2 separate regions of the Homo sapiens genome follow, and region 2 is linked to region 1. The links are contacts of gene promoters, found by promoter capture Hi-C in human tissues and cell types (Jung and others, 2019). All regions are on one chromosome and are shown on one strand. The core of a region is centred on a gene start or on the middle of the fragment in contact, and the rest is flanking DNA. Distances in the headings are between cores, read along the strand shown.

Region 1 (2,700 bases), core at 103-2,602:
CATATATCCACCGCCTCTTGGTCATCTCAGGTTGATGTTACACAACCACATCAAATTCAGTGTAAACAAAATTTAAATCTTACATCTGCCTATGTTCTCTATTTTAAATGGAGACACTCCTACCTATATACACCCCAGGAGTCATACCTGACTGGTGCCCCTTTCCCACATATTCAATCAATCCAGCCTTAATGACTGTATGGCCTAAATATTTTCCCAGTCTATCCCATCCTCTTACTCCTTGCCCTAGGTCAGACCTTCTTAATCTATTAACAAGACTATTCCCACAGACTCCTAGTCTCTGGCTCAAGTCTTATTCTTTTCAAATCCATCCTCCATAGTGTTGTCAAACTGATTTAATTTTGTGGTCACTTTTTTACTTAAGGCTTTTCAATAAATCCCCCTTCCAAGCTCCAGGGTACTCAAGGTTTTCATTTTCTGGCCTCGATCTACTTCCCTTGCTCTCTTCTTACCACTCTGCCACATAACTAGTGATCCAGTAATAATGAACACCTTGTAATTCTAATTTACTGATTTATCTCCTTGGCCCTCTAACTCCTATTCATCCTTTATTTCAAGTGTCATCTCCTCTGGAAGCCCTCTTAAAGGCCAACATCCCCAACCCCTCAGGTAGATTAGATTTCCCTTCCACGTGCTCTCATATTTCCATGTGCATCTATCACTGCACTTACCGACGCTCTTTTGTCATTCTACGCCTATGTGTCTGCTCAGCCCTTACTCTAAACAGTAAGCTCCTAGAGGGCAGAGATTGCTTACATCATCGTTACATGCCCAGCGTACCGATCTTCGACTACATGCATTCTGAAAACGTTTCTTGAATAAATAAAACACTCTTCTCAACTTCTCCATCATCTAATCCCCACCACCATCCCCTCCACTGAGCTTGATCCGCAGATTCCAATACTTCAAACACCAGCCTGAGCATTTGTTAGCTGTCTCTATTCTCCGCTAGACGAAGAGCTCCGGGAGTGAGATGACCGGTCATATTCACCTGCCTAACTCCGGTACTTGATACACGGGCAAAAGAATGAAAAGTTTAAGCAGGCCGAGGGGTTTGGTCTCGGACTTCTCTCACACACACCCTCCGCCAAGCTCACCCCGCCCGAGGACTGGGGACGCGTGACCCGCGCAGACCAGCGAAGACCCCCGAATCCCAGCTTCCTCGGGCTATGCAGATCACCTCCACCCACTCCACTCCACTCCAGCGTCCTCTTCCGTCGGAAGTTCCGGAGGGCGCTACGGACTCACCGGCAGGCGGAACTCCAGATGCTCCTGCGCCATGAGGAGCAGATACCTGTTAAGGGTACACGACAGCGCCATTGCAGCTGCCCACCGTGCGCCTGCGCGGCCCGCGCTAGGTCCCTCTTTCTCCCTCCCAAAGCCCAGTCTCCACAGAGACAGAGCCTGAAGGGCCGGAAGCGGAAGCTCTGCGAGGCAGGCGCTATCCCGACGTTTCTCGCGCTCCGAGTCCGAAACTCCGGCCGCTGTGGGAGGGGCTTCCTCACCTGTGAATGCCTGGTGGTTAGGGGTCTCCCAGCGCTGGTAGCTGGTGAGCGGGGACGCGTGGCTTTCAGGAGCAGCCTGTGATAATAAGACAGTATATTTCCAAGTTATCGTTCCACTTGGAGTGTGCTTCCAGCTTTCTCTACAGCCCTTCAAAACCTGTTCTTCAAAATTGGACTGAAATTTCACCATTTCCTTGGAAATTTCACCATTTCCTTGTAGGTTTGTCTAACCAGCACAGCTTTGGGAACTGATTTAGTTGGGCCAGTCATTTAACAGTATATTTTTCGTATTTATGTAACAACTTTTCGAGAGCACATGCCTTATAACCCAATTATAATAAACTCTTGAGGTCTGATATAATCTTTTATGGTTCACTCTATTCTTAACAAAAACCAAAAGAATATCTTCCTCAAAGTAGGCAATAATTATTAGGTTGTGTTATTTGTTAGACTCAGGACTAAATCCACAGCCAGCCATAAATTAAAACTTGGAGAAAGCTCACACTGGCACAGATTTCATAGCAGATAGTTTATGAAATATATTTTAATTGCATATTCTATGTATATATGTGACTTTTTTTTTTTAAGACAATCTTGCTCTGTCACCCAGGTGAGTGCAGTGGCGCAATCATAGCTCACTGTAACCTTGAACTCCTGGTCTCAGGGGATACTCCTACCCTAGTCTCCCAAAGTGCTAGAATTACGGGCTCAAGCCCTCCCTCTGGGCTATTTCTGCTTTTGAGAGTACCGAGCCCTTTGCCCTATTAAAAATTATTTATTTTGCATTTCTCTGTGGTATTGTACAAGGTGCAAAAGAGTATGTATCTGGCATATCCCCAGCGGCATGTGCCAGAAACGTAGTTGATGCGCAGTGGTAGTGATTAAGAACATAGGCTGTGGTGTCAATATTAGATTCAAACCTCACTTCCACCATTTACCATGTATATGCTCTTAACCTCTCCGAGCTTGAGTTTTCTTTTAAAAATGGAAAAACACACTGCCTCCTGCAAAGGATTGTTACAAGGATTAAGTGGAATAATGTTCATAAAGTGTTGAATATAACATCTGGCATATTGAATGGGGCCAATAAGTGGCACTTGACATTTTTCTTAAGAAAATCACATGAGAATTTTTGTTAGCAAGAGATCTGTTTTTGTTAGGAATATGTCTCAAG
Region 2 (2,700 bases), core at 88-2,587, 1.1 Mb before region 1:
TACAGGTACATATTTATTCTCATATGTCCTGATTGAGACTCGATGAGTTGTTGTTGTTTTTAATATAAGTGTTCTTGTCTTTCATCACTTCTGAGAAATTATCTTTGTATATTGGGCTTACCACCCTGTTTAACAAATACTGCATCTCCTCACTCTCACTCTAGGCCCTATGTGTCTAGTCTGTACTGTTTTGAATCTTGTTATGTTTATGTGCTGCATTCTGGGTAATTCCTCAGTGCTGGGATTACAAGTGTGAGCCAACCCACCCAGCCAAGAGCAAACTCTATAGTTAAAGGCAAATAATCTCAGGTATAACAAAAAGAATAAATTCAATTATAAGAATCACACCTTAAGCATAACAAAAAATAGCTAGTATTTACCTAGGAATAAGCACAGTGCTTAGAATTGTAACTTCTTCAAATCTCACAAAAGCCTTTTGACATAGTATTCAGCTGGGTTGACCTCATGCTTATGTCCAGAACTACCTGGAGTAATCACCCTTGGCCAATGTTATAATATATTTTAACTAGTGATAAATTATGTTCTATAACCATGTGGATGCATCAATTTGTCAACACTGTTTTGTAATTGATGATTTGCATCTGTGTTTGGTGCAACCTGGGTAATTTTTGTAATTTAGGATGATCACATAGCTGGAATGTGCCTATGTGACCACCTCTCTATAACAGACCCCATCATGAACAGACTTTGAGCTTGTTGGTACCAAGATGCTTTGCATACATTTTGATGGTGATTCAAAACTAGGAGAACAAGTCAATTCAGTGCAATCCATAGTGAGAAGACAAGCCTGCATCTGAGATTTCCAGACCCCTTTCAATGAATACCTTTGTTTTGCCATTGTTGCATTGTATCCTTTACCCATAATAAAGCTATTTTGTGAGTAAACACTATTTGAGTCCTTTCAGCAAACAAACACGAAGATTAATATAAAATTAAGGCAGATATATACCATGTTAATATCTCTGTTTTAAAAATGAGAACCCGGAGGCATGGAGGTGTTAAAAAACTTCCCCCCAGATAATACCATTATAAAGTGACAGAGCAGGGACTTAACAGGAAGTCTGAGAGCTCAAGACTTGCTGTCTTCCCCACTGCACTACATTGCATCTCTGGTGGAACAGAAAAATTAAAAACAAAAATGGGAAAAATATACTTGGCAAATAAATCCTAAGAGGAAACTTGTGTAGCTTTATAATTATTGGACAGAATAGATTTTGAGGCAAAAGATATTATAGAGAGAAAATTTTGCTAAGTAATTATACATAAAAATACTAATCAGAAAGATGTAACAATTTTGAACACGTGTGCACCTCTATCAAAACAATCTTGGCTGCGGGCAGTGGCTCACGCCTGTAATCCCAGCACTTTGGGAGGCCGAGGCGGGCGGATCATGAGGTCAGGAGATTGAGACCATCCTGGCTAACACGGTGAAACCCTGTCTCTACTAAAAAATAGAAAAAATTGGCCGGGAGTGGTGGCGGGTGCCTGTAGTCCCAGCTACTCGGGACACTGAGGCAGGAGAATGGCGTGAACCCAGGAGGCGGAGCTTGCAGTGAGCCAAGATCGTGCCACTGCCCTCCAGCCTGGGCAACAGAGCGAGGCTCCATCTCAAAAAAAAAAAAAAAAAAAAAAAAAAAATCTTATTATGCATAAGAAAAATTGACACAATTTCAAGAAGAAATTGACCAATCCACCATCATGATACGTAACACCATTCTTTTAATATTTGATAAGTCAAGCAGATTAAAAATAATACTGATTTTGAAAATTTGAACAACACATAAAAAAGCTTGATAATCTGGGCACATATGTAATTCTGCTCTTAAATTAGAGAACACATGTGACCACATATTATTTTAAAAGGATTATTAAGGTATGTAACAGGTATATATGGCATATAAACAAAATCCTTTTTAATTTAGGTTACATTTTCTTATCATTCAGTGACAAAATTGGAAATAAATAACAAAAATGACCAAAAAACCTGTCATATCAGAACATTTAACAATGAACTTCTTAACTCAGACTTTTGGTATAAACGGAAAAATACAAATTAGAGTATTTTTCCTTCTCTTCCTGGCACACTTAAAAAGCAACAAGTAAAAAAAAAAACCTATAAAAACTCCATCTTGAGTGAATGTAGGAGAAAATTATAATATGAATATATATTTGAGATTAAGAGCAGAGGACAGAGAAGGGCCCACTAGCAGAATATCTCAGAATGCCCCAGCAAAGGCTTGGTGTGGTGGCTCGTGCCTATAATCCCAGCACTTTGGAAGGCCAAGACAGGTGGATCACCTGAGGTCAGGAGTTTGAGACCAGCCTGGCCAACATGGTGAAACCCTGTCTCTACTAAAAATACAAAAATTAGCTGGGTGTTGTGGTGTGTGCCTTTAGTCCCAGCTATTGGGGGTGCTGAGGCAGGAGAATCACTTGAAATGGGGAGGTGGAGGTTGCAGTGAGCCGAGATTGTGCCACTGTACTCCAGCCTGGGAAACAGAGTGAGACTCCATCTCAAAAAAAAAAAAGAAAAAAAAAGAAAAAAAAGCCCCAGCGAAAGTGTTCTTGTGAAGCTGAGGGGAGTACCATAAAGTGTAAAAACTACATTCAGCATTGATGTTATTCAGTGCACATAATAGTGTTAGTTATTAAAATCCTGCAATAATTCAGAGTAGATTT

The links. The method cuts DNA at HindIII sites, captures the fragments that hold promoters and counts their contacts. A contact is called where the count stands out against the background at its distance.
Region 2: a fragment that was not itself captured here is called in contact with the fragment with the promoter of TRMT11 in region 1 in 1 of the 25 tissues and cell types used here (stomach).

Annotation. Positions count from the first base shown.
Region 1 is chr6:125,985,192-125,987,891 of GRCh38, reverse strand. It overlaps TRMT11 (tRNA methyltransferase 11), which reads right to left and starts at 1,352. Exons shown (of 13, transcript NM_001031712.3): 1 at 1,270-1,352. The coding sequence starts at 1,341. RefSeq lists enhancers at 469-1,298, 832-1,321, 1,299-2,129. The HindIII fragment of the contact is 9,309 bases long and covers 1-2,700 here.
Region 2 is chr6:127,063,239-127,065,938 of GRCh38, reverse strand. The region is part of intron 5 of LOC105377989 (a long non-coding RNA gene); the gene reads left to right. Among named protein-coding and RNA genes, the nearest start is that of RSPO3, 54 kb to the left of the region's middle. The HindIII fragment of the contact is 4,129 bases long and covers 1-2,700 here.